4 separate regions of the Homo sapiens genome follow, and regions 1, 2 and 4 are each linked to region 3. The links are contacts of gene promoters, found by promoter capture Hi-C in blood cells and fetal thymus (Javierre and others, 2016). All regions are on one chromosome and are shown on one strand. The core of a region is centred on a gene start or on the middle of the fragment in contact, and the rest is flanking DNA. Distances in the headings are between cores, read along the strand shown. Region 1 overlaps C9orf72 (C9orf72-SMCR8 complex subunit). Region 2 has its middle 9.8 kb from the start of C9orf72. Region 3 holds the start of DNAJA1 (DnaJ heat shock protein family (Hsp40) member A1). Region 4 overlaps PLAA (phospholipase A2 activating protein).

Region 1 (2,700 bases), core at 128-2,627, 5.5 Mb after region 3:
AATAATATGGGGCTCTGAAAAACTGGTTAAGGTTACTCCAAAAATGGCCCTGGGTCTGACAAAGATTCTAACTTAAAGATGCTTATGAAGACTTTGAGTAAAATCATTTCATAAAATAAGTGAGGAAAAACAACTAGTATTAAATTCATCTTAAATAATGTATGATTTAAAAAATATGTTTAGCTAAAAATGCATAGTCATTTGACAATTTCATTTATATCTCAAAAAATTTACTTAACCAAGTTGGTCACAAAACTGATGAGACTGGTGGTGGTAGTGAATAAATGAGGGACCATCCATATTTGAGACACTTTACATTTGTGATGTGTTATACTGAATTTTCAGTTTGATTCTATAGACTACAAATTTCAAAATTACAATTTCAAGATGTAATAAGTAGTAATATCTTGAAATAGCTCTAAAGGGAATTTTTCTGTTTTATTGATTCTTAAAATATATGTGCTGATTTTGATTTGCATTTGGGTAGATTATACTTTTATGAGTATGGAGGTTAGGTATTGATTCAAGTTTTCCTTACCTATTTGGTAAGGATTTCAAAGTCTTTTTGTGCTTGGTTTTCCTCATTTTTAAATATGAAATATATTGATGACCTTTAACAAATTTTTTTTATCTCAAATTTTAAAGGAGATCTTTTCTAAAAGAGGCATGATGACTTAATCATTGCATGTAACAGTAAACGATAAACCAATGATTCCATACTCTCTAAAGAATAAAAGTGAGCTTTAGGGCCGGGCATGGTCAGAAATTTGACACCAACCTGGCCAACATGGCGAAACCCCGTCTCTACTAAAAATACAAAAATCAGCCGGGCATGGTGGCGGCACCTATAGTCCCAGCTACTTGGGAGGATGAGACAGGAGAGTCACTTGAACCTGGGAGGAGAGGTTGCAGTGAGCTGAGATCACGCCATTGCACTCCAGCCTGAGCAATGAAAGCAAAACTCCATCTCAAAAAAAAAAAAAGAAAAGAAAGAATAAAAGTGAGCTTTGGATTGCATATAAATCCTTTAGACATGTAGTAGACTTGTTTGATACTGTGTTTGAACAAATTACGAAGTATTTTCATCAAAGAATGTTATTGTTTGATGTTATTTTTATTTTTTATTGCCCAGCTTCTCTCATATTACGTGATTTTCTTCACTTCATGTCACTTTATTGTGCAGGGTCAGAGTATTATTCCAATGCTTACTGGAGAAGTGATTCCTGTAATGGAACTGCTTTCATCTATGAAATCACACAGTGTTCCTGAAGAAATAGATGTAAGTTTAAATGAGAGCAATTATACACTTTATGAGTTTTTTGGGGTTATAGTATTATTATGTATATTATTAATATTCTAATTTTAATAGTAAGGACTTTGTCATACATACTATTCACATACAGTATTAGCCACTTTAGCAAATAAGCACACACAAAATCCTGGATTTTATGGCAAAACAGAGGCATTTTTGATCAGTGATGACAAAATTAAATTCATTTTGTTTATTTCATTACTTTTATAATTCCTAAAAGTGGGAGGATCCCAGCTCTTATAGGAGCAATTAATATTTAATGTAGTGTCTTTTGAAACAAAACTGTGTGCCAAAGTAGTAACCATTAATGGAAGTTTACTTGTAGTCACAAATTTAGTTTCCTTAATCATTTGTTGAGGACGTTTTGAATCACACACTATGAGTGTTAAGAGATACCTTTAGGAAACTATTCTTGTTGTTTTCTGATTTTGTCATTTAGGTTAGTCTCCTGATTCTGACAGCTCAGAAGAGGAAGTTGTTCTTGTAAAAATTGTTTAACCTGCTTGACCAGCTTTCACATTTGTTCTTCTGAAGTTTATGGTAGTGCACAGAGATTGTTTTTTGGGGAGTCTTGATTCTCGGAAATGAAGGCAGTGTGTTATATTGAATCCAGACTTCCGAAAACTTGTATATTAAAAGTGTTATTTCAACACTATGTTACAGCCAGACTAATTTTTTTATTTTTTGATGCATTTTAGATAGCTGATACAGTACTCAATGATGATGATATTGGTGACAGCTGTCATGAAGGCTTTCTTCTCAAGTAAGAATTTTTCTTTTCATAAAAGCTGGATGAAGCAGATACCATCTTATGCTCACCTATGACAAGATTTGGAAGAAAGAAAATAACAGACTGTCTACTTAGATTGTTCTAGGGACATTACGTATTTGAACTGTTGCTTAAATTTGTGTTATTTTTCACTCATTATATTTCTATATATATTTGGTGTTATTCCATTTGCTATTTAAAGAAACCGAGTTTCCATCCCAGACAAGAAATCATGGCCCCTTGCTTGATTCTGGTTTCTTGTTTTACTTCTCATTAAAGCTAACAGAATCCTTTCATATTAAGTTGTACTGTAGATGAACTTAAGTTATTTAGGCGTAGAACAAAATTATTCATATTTATACTGATCTTTTTCCATCCAGCAGTGGAGTTTAGTACTTAAGAGTTTGTGCCCTTAAACCAGACTCCCTGGATTAATGCTGTGTACCCGTGGGCAAGGTGCCTGAATTCTCTATACACCTATTTCCTCATCTGTAAAATGGCAATAATAGTAATAGTACCTAATGTGTAGGGTTGTTATAAGCATTGAGTAAGATAAATAATATAAAGCACTTAGAACAGTGCCTGGAACATAAAAACACTTAATAATAGCTCATAGCTA
Region 2 (2,700 bases), core at 110-2,609, 5.4 Mb after region 3:
AGATCCTAATGTCATTTCCCATGCAGCATCTTCATTCTTTTCTAAAGCACTATTTGGTAAAAACAACTGATAGTCGTCAGAGGTGATCAGCAATGTTTGAGCACTATTTCCTTTTTATATCCTGCACATGGAATATGGACAGGCAAACAAATCATTTCCAAGTAAGAAAATAAATTTTGAGGGAGTTAATACTATAATTTGAAAGTAATAACCTCCTATTTATCCATCTAGTTTGTTGTTCTGTACTAAATTATTTGTGCATGTCTCTGTGTCTATAATTTATGTGAAACTTTGCACAATCTTAAATAGGACAAAATAGACATTCTGTAATTTCCCAGGCAAGCTATTTAAGGTGACTATCTCTCTACATATTTGAGATGAAAAACAATAACATGACAATCCATCCCTTCTTAGGTTTTTGTAAGCAGACTTACTACCTGTGACTCAGTTTTGTTCTCACAGGGTACTAATTAATCCTTCACGATAATAACTTGTCAAATTCCATTACTTCTGTAAAGGCAATACTTTATATTTGTTTGTATTCAAATTTTAAACTGATGTTAAATGCCGTGGGTGCAACTGCAGGTTAAAAATATGTGTTTGAATCTCTTATTCTTTTTGCTTGGCAATGTATGAAATAACTGCTCTTTCTAGAAATCTTGATGATGAAGTGGCCTGTTGTTTTGTCACCTAAAAATGCAATAATGTTCAAATTAAGCTTTTCTTTATTAACATCACTTGATTGTGTGCCATATTTAGAGCTTAGTGAAATTTTAATCTACACATTGATTAAATACATTTTATTTATTCTTGTTTCTAATGGGAACTTTCTTTGTTTCTAATGGGAACTTTCTTAAATTAAATTACATCCAACATTTATTAAAGACCTAAAACATAGGCAATTACTGTGCTTAGAGGAAAAGCGCAGACGAAAGTGAATCAGACAAGTTCCCTGCCCTCCGGAAGCTTTCAGTCTAGTGATGAGAAAGACGTATACACACCTTATGTTGATTTAAAAAAAAAAAAAGCTCTTACCTGGTTGCTGGCATATGAAAGTGTTAGTTACAGATCTGCCCCAAACTAAAGGTGTCACCTCGAGTAAATCTCTTTCCCTTTCCCTTTCAATCTCTTCATCTATAAACTAGGGGTTGGGAATACATTTATTAACAAACACAAATTGAGCGTCTACCATGTGATAATAGTAGCTAAACTTACTGAGCAATTACCATGGGGCAGGTATCAAGATAAACCCTTTATGATGGTAACCTCATTTAATCCTCAAAGCAATTCCATTTTCAAGAGGAGGAAATTGAGGCTCAAAAATGTTAAGTAACTCCCCCAAGGATGCAAAGTGATTGAGCCAGAATTCAAGACTAGGTTGGTTTGACTCCAAAACTCATGCCATTAAACCCTATTGTGTCACTGCAAACAACTCTAATAGTTTCAAATTATTAGTTCTATTAATATTATATTACCATTATTTGCCCCCAAAATGTAAAATGTAAATACAAAGAGTTTGGTTTTTGTATTACTAGTGGAGGTTAAAGGTGCACAATGGAATTATTCAAACTGGGAAAATCCAGGAAGACTTCATGGAGGAGGCAGCATATGGCTGCAGTTAATAAGGTTTGCTCACACAAAATGGAGAGGTGAGGACATTTCAGGCAGAGAGAATTATATGAGAGGTTACAGAGCAGTAAACAGTCATGCGTCTGCAAGATCAAAGGGAAAGGGCGGTAAGAGAGAAGCTTGAAAGTCAAGTGGAGCCAGATTGTGGAAAAACTAGAGAGTCATGCCAAGGACCTTGACATATAGAAAATGGGAAGCCCCTGAAAGGTGAAGAACATGAGAGTGAAATGATTAGTAACTTTTTGGTTTAGGACTTGTTTCTTTTGTGTTTTGGTTGCTTTCTTGTTTTGTTTTGTTTGTGGTTTTTAAATTTACAACCAATAAGAATATTTAGTAAGGTTTCCAAATACATCATGAATATATAAAACTAGCCTGACTCAAGGATAATAATTCTGGGTAGTTGGAGTGAAGTTTCAATCAGCTACGTGGCATTTGCTAATCATCTGATATGAGCTAACAATAAAGGAGTTAACAAATAAACTGTCAGCCTACAGTCCAGGGTCTCAAATAGCATGTGACATAGTTGAGAAGCAGTTTTCCATATCATACATGAAATAACTAAAGAAACTACTTACAAAGCACTATACCAGTAACTACAATAAAATACAACTATACATGCAAAATAATGCTGAAAGCTGCAAGTAGAGGGGTAAAGCTAGGCCAGTTGCTCAGGGAACCATTCTGAAGTGGATTTGGGAAGTATGTCTAGAAGGGGAGCCATTGCTGTGAGAGTGCTGAGGCTCATCTGCTACTAGTCCCCCACTACTCAGGCATATGGTAGGTCAGTAACAAAACCATCATTGTGCACTGTTCTTTCCATCTAAATTCCATCAAATTATGACCAACCTATCAAGGTACTAGTTCAAATTCTCTCTTCCTCTATAAGCTAGTGGTCTTCTCTAAAATTTAAGAAGATCGTGCTCATCTTCCTACTTCTTGTTCTCTTTCTTCTGTGTTTTCTGAGGCTGCAATGAACTAGGAACTTCCTCTCCCCAGAACTCTGTATTCCAGGCCTTAGATCACTCAAAACTGTTGCTTATAAAGTGCAGAGAATCAACAGAGAAGGAATAG
Region 3 (2,700 bases), core at 1-2,500:
ACCCCCAAAACATCGTAGTAAGTTGTTTCTTTCACCATCTTCTACTGCCTGAAATAAGAAAATGCAACTTTAACCGGCTTTCAACTGGTAGCTTTTAATAAAAAAGAGAGCTAAGGCCGAGCAATCTCTTTGCAAAATCCGATTATAAGAACACCACCTTCCCTAAATTTCACCAAAAAGGTAACAATTCCTGCGATAATTCAGCTATAAACTCGAACAGACAAAACAAATAATCATTATCGGGAAATAATCTGAGAGCCGCCTTCTAGCAGCTGGTTCCAATTTTCCTACACCAAAGCTTCCATACTAATATAACACAACTATTATCTGGATTCTTCCCGTTTGCCCTAGAGGCGGTGACAGTTGTAACCAAAAGAAGCACTGATATGTTCAGTCTACCGGTCATTACACTATCACTGTCTTTGGCAAATCTGATAAACTCCATATACTCTCCAGAAAAAGACGTCTGGGCACACAGTGGTGGGGGGGAGTGGTTTATAGAACAGGTTACTGGCTCCACACAGCAAGCCCTCCACCGCCCACGGCTTACAGCTTCTCCAGCCGAATCCCTCTCGCCCCTCAGGCTGGCAGAGTTTACCTGCCAGGTTTCCCCTTGCACTTGGCGCTGACCGATTTCCTTCCTTTCTCCCTCCCACCCTGGACCCAAGTGGCGGTGGGGAAAGCCCAGCCCTCAACAAACAAAGGGAGGGGAAACAGAGAAAGCGAAACCAAAAGCCGCAGTCTCCGCCCGGCTCCCCCCGCAGCCCCTCGCCCCTGCCTCCCTGTGCGCGTGCGCAGGGTCGCCAACCCCACTCCCCCCCCCCACCCCGAGCGAGCACGGACGGGGAGGGGGGCCGCGGGGGCGCGCACGGAGGGGCAGCCGAAGACAGTAGCTCCTTGGAGATCCCAGGCTGGGGAAGGAGGGAGGTCTAGGAAAGGTCTCGGGCCCATTCACTGTGCGTGCCGGGGATGGGTTGCCAGGGCACCACACCAGCCCTCCAAAAGGGAAATCGTGGGCCCAGGAACTGACAGCGGTCCTACCCACGCGGCCAACTGCCTCCCGACCGCGGCTCCATCGGTTTCCCGGCGCCAATGGCGCCAGCCAGGGGACTAGGGGCAGCGCGAGGGCTCAAACTCACCGGTGCGGGCTGAGGCCGGTGTGTGAGGGAGCGGGAAGGAGCGCCGAGCTGTGCGCAGCCGGGGTAGTTACCGCTCCTCCGCCTCTCACCGAGCGTTCTGGAAAGTTCCGCCCGGCGCGCCGCAGCCGTCCTCTTTTGTAGCCGAACCCGGGCGCGTCACCCGCCGGAAGTCCCGCCCTTCTCGGCCGCTGCCACCGCCCCGCCGTTACCTGGGCAACGGCGCGGGGGCGCACGGGTCGGGAGGAGCTGCGCCGAAAGGCCTTGTGGGTGTTGGTGCTAGCGCGGCTTCCCGGCGCTCGTGGAATCTTCTGGAGCCCTTTTCTCCACTCAGCGAGCCTGAGAGTGCGGAAGTCTCCGGCTGGTGGGGCATGGCCCAGGAGCACTGCAAGTCCTAGGGTTCCCAAACCTGTGGGGTGGCCGCCTGGGCCCGCGAGGGCGGGAAGGGCTCGAGTACAGTGACCCAGCGGGAGCTGTGTGTGAACGGGAAAGCTCTTGGAACAGTCTTGCCCCCCCCCCCCCCCCTCTTACGGGCGCCTCTTCTCTTTTTGGGAACGTGGCGAGCAAAAAATGCTTGAGCCAGGTGGGTCTAGTCCCCAGACCAATAGCATAGGCCTTGGGTCTTGCTGTTTTTCACGCGTGGTCCAAGGCGGCATAATTAATCAAATTGTGAAGTTGTTAAGGCTTTTTGTGCAAGTCCAGGCCCCTAGACACATGTTATCTGCCCTGGACCTCGCTGATTCGTGCAGATTGAGCTCAGTGTGTCTGGGACTGAGCTAAACAGTGAGACGTTTGGACCGTCTTTGATGTACAGAGGGCCGTGGACTCCTCTGGTCAGGTTTTCACCCAGTTTGGCTACAGAGTAGCCGCAAGAGTGTCTGACTAAAACAATTTGTTTAATTATTTGACCTCACTTTTAAATCCTACGGGTCAGGGAACCTGGATGTACAATCTGCAACGTAAGACCTCGGACTTGAAAATGGTACCACGGGGGCTTAATGGGAATTGGGGTCCGCTTCTTTATCCAGGGACACAGCAGGTATGTCAGTATCTAGCACCAAGAAAGATGGAGTTTGCCACGCTCGGTGGCTCACGTGTGTAATCCCAGCACTTTGGGACGCCAGCGTGGGCTGATTGCGTGAGCTCAGAAGTTTGATACCAGCCCAAGCAACATGGTGAAACCCCGTCTCGATTTAAAACAAAAACAGAACTGGAGATGCAGAGTTGAAAAGCCCCAGTTAGACTTTAGTGAGAAGCCAAACAAGTCAACAGACTGCCAGAGAAACCATGAGGTAGAAGTCAGTAGGGGAGAGCCTCCTATATTAACCTGATAGATCAGAGAGAATTTCTTTGGGAAAGTGGCAATTGAGCTGAGTTTTGAAAATGGGAGGAGAGCAGTGGACAAAGCACAGGGGAAGGCTATACTAAGGTGTGGAAGAATATGATGTTTTTAGGAAATTGCAACTAATTGGATATAGCCATAGCTAAGGGAGCTAGAATAGCCGGAGGTGAGGCTTCAAAGCTAGTTAGGGCATGCCTTTGTCTGTTGGTATATATGCTACGC
Region 4 (2,700 bases), core at 125-2,624, 6.1 Mb after region 3:
ATTAAAGTATGATGGACTAGGCCAGAACTGGCATATATCACATCCACCCAGATTCCACTGACCATTACTCAGTAATGTGACATCATGTGACTGCCCAATGCAAGGGGACTAGATAATGTAGTCTCTGGCTAGACAACTACAGCTGTATCTAATGGAAGAAGAGCATGATTCTTCGGAGGATGGATAGCTGTCTCCGCCACTGAAGGCCTTGTTGAGAACATGACATTTGTGTAAAGTTGTTAAAGAGGGAAAGGAGCAAATACTGCCAATATCTGTGTGAAGAGCATCATAGGCAGAATAAACAGCTAATACAAAGGCTCTGTGGCTGAAGTTGGGAGATGAGGGGACAGGGGGAATAGTAGAAAGTAAGGTCATGTAGGATAGTGTGGACAATTTATATTTGGTCTTGTACACTACTCAAGAGTTTAGGCTTTTACCAAGTGAGATGAAAAGCATTGATGGGTTTCAAGCAGAAGAGTGTCAGGACCTACTTAAACTTTTGAAAAAATTCCTGAAGTTGCTGGGTGGAATATACACTGTCGGGGGCCAAGAGTACAGGAAAGAGGCCGTTGAATCAACCCAACTGAGAAATGATGGTGGCTTGGACCAAGGGATGATGATGGAGATATTAAGGAGACAGTTTTCTAGATATATTTTAAAGAATGAGCTGATAGCAGTAGCTGAAGGGGGTGCTGAGAAGTAGCCGAAGGAGCGATGGGGTTGAGAGAAAGGTATCAGGCTTTTCTACTTTTCAGTTTGAGCCACTGGATTAATGGAGAGCCATTTACGGAATGAAATGTGTTAGGAAGATATATTCACTAATAAAACTTGTTTTATTTTTGATGGGCCAGTTGCTTCCTAGTAGAATCACGTTTTGTTAACCTTCCTTTGATTAATAATATTTCCTTTTAACTGTTATTTTCTTTTGGCCACATTTTTAAATCTTTTATTTGATACAATTTTATTTTGAAACAAAATCCATATTCTCTTATGTGTAAATTTTAATGTTAAGAATTTTCTATTTAAATGTTTTTCAATTTTACATTGCCATTCTACCTTTGATTCTTAAAATTTTTATTTTAAGGTACTAGAGAAGGACAGACTCGTCTAATCAGAGATGGGGAGAAAGTCGAAGCCTATCAGTGGAGTGTTAGTGAAGGGAGGTGGATAAAAATTGGTGATGTTGTTGGCTCATCTGGTGCTAATCAGCAAACATCTGGAAAAGTTTTATATGAAGGGAAAGTATGTCGACTTCTACTTTCTAATTACTATTGTCTTAAATATTAGGCAAATTAAAGGTTTCCTTTGCCCCATAGTGATAAAATTTCCTTTGTTTTGACATTTAAAAATCCATTACTGTGGGAAACTAATCTTTTTTTTCCCTGTCTTGAAATAGATATTTTAAAAGTATCTTTCCATGTAGTGAGAGCTGCATTTGAGAGACAAATTAGCAATTGTCTGTCATGTAGTAGTTTCTATACAAAAGCTGTTCCCAGCCATTTTGGATTGGGAGCTTCTGTGCCACCTTTCATCAAATGCCTCATGCCTGGCTATATTTAACTTGACAAGACATGAGAGACCCTGCAGGGCAGTGCTTAAAATGCCAGCACGTTTTGGTGAGTAGGGCACAGTAACAGCTGATAATTTTGATCTTGATATCAAACCAGTTGGAAACTCTGCTTTGGCTCTAGAGTTAATATGTAGTTGTAATCCATCCTTCATCCTCACCCCCATCCCCTAATGAAATACTAATTTTGCATCACATGCAGATGGGGGCTGTTAATCTTTATCTGCCAAAAACGAAGATTTTAGCACTGCACTTTGGAGAAAGTTTAAGTACTGTAATTATTAAAGAACACATCTGTGTTATGTTGTATATGTCATTAATATATGTGAACAGATAATAAGCATGTATCTCCTTTTTATATTCCTACTTTAGGAATTTGATTATGTTTTCTCAATTGATGTCAATGAAGGTGGACCATCATATAAATTGCCATATAATACCAGTGATGACCCTTGGTTAACTGCATACAACTTCTTACAGAAGAATGATTTGAATCCTATGTTTCTGGATCAAGTAGCTAAATTTATTATTGATAACACAAAAGGTCAAATGTTGGGACTTGGGAATCCCAGCTTTTCAGATCCATTTACAGGTAAGTTAGTGTTTATATTGAGTCTTATGTAGTTCCATTAGTGTTGATTGATTTTTTTGATGTTTTCAAATAGTCATGTGATTAGCTTTTTCAATAAATACCAATATCTACAGCAGGGTTTTACTTCACATTCATATGTTTAAGCCTCAAATGATGAAGTAATTCTGTATTTTACAGAAATAATAGTAAATTGTTGTCTTTCAAAAATACAATCATACTATAATGGAATTTCAGTTATTTGAAACAAAAATAAACTTGTAAGTTCTTTTATATAGTGTTTCTTTTAAAAAATTATATTTTGGCAAAATTTAGTAAATCTTTTTTTCACATGAGGCTAAATTGGTCAGTCATGCATCAAATCTAAAAGTGAACCCTATGGGTAGTTTTAGTTTATATGTGATGTGTATTCTACACGTTCATTTTAAGTTAATTGTTTGTAACATCGTATACATCGTATCTCATGTTATAAATGCAGTTAGGTGCTCATACCAGTCTGTAAATTGTAATCCTAATGGTACTAGTCCAAATTCTGGCCCCTAGG

Evidence for each region. Contacts are between HindIII fragments. The CHiCAGO score rates a contact against its expected background, and 5 or more counts as called.
Region 1: a contact is called between a fragment that was not itself captured here and the fragment with the promoter of DNAJA1 in region 3, in 1 of 17 cell types (M0 macrophages). The highest score is 6.2, in M0 macrophages.
Region 2: a contact is called between a fragment that was not itself captured here and the fragment with the promoter of DNAJA1 in region 3, in 2 of 17 cell types (M0 macrophages and naive B cells). The highest score is 13.2, in M0 macrophages.
Region 4: a contact is called between a fragment that was not itself captured here and the fragment with the promoter of DNAJA1 in region 3, in 1 of 17 cell types (total CD4 T cells). The highest score is 6.6, in total CD4 T cells.

What each region holds. Positions count from the first base shown.
Region 1 is chr9:27,560,960-27,563,659 of GRCh38, reverse strand. C9orf72 (C9orf72-SMCR8 complex subunit) reads left to right here. Exons shown (of 11, transcript NM_018325.5): 4 at 1,184-1,279; 5 at 2,011-2,075. Among named protein-coding and RNA genes, the nearest start is that of C9orf72, 11 kb to the left of the region's middle. The HindIII fragment of the contact is 8,318 bases long and covers 1-2,700 here.
Region 2 is chr9:27,581,905-27,584,604 of GRCh38, reverse strand. No RefSeq gene overlaps it. Among named protein-coding and RNA genes, the nearest start is that of C9orf72, 9.8 kb to the right of the region's middle. The HindIII fragment of the contact is 782 bases long and covers 969-1,750 here.
Region 3 is chr9:33,023,823-33,026,522 of GRCh38, reverse strand. DNAJA1 (DnaJ heat shock protein family (Hsp40) member A1) reads right to left here and starts at 1,250. Exons shown (of 9, transcript NM_001539.4): 1 at 1,140-1,250; 2 at 1-48. The coding sequence starts at 38. It also overlaps a transcript of APTX not described here. RefSeq lists enhancers at 600-669, 626-1,220, 1,198-1,492, 1,815-2,410 and silencers at 770-909, 1,190-1,339. The HindIII fragment of the contact is 3,848 bases long and covers 301-2,700 here.
Region 4 is chr9:26,918,769-26,921,468 of GRCh38, reverse strand. PLAA (phospholipase A2 activating protein) reads left to right here. Exons shown (of 14, transcript NM_001031689.3): 8 at 1,085-1,242; 9 at 1,940-2,159. Among named protein-coding and RNA genes, the nearest start is that of PLAA, 27 kb to the left of the region's middle. The HindIII fragment of the contact is 4,870 bases long and covers 1-2,700 here.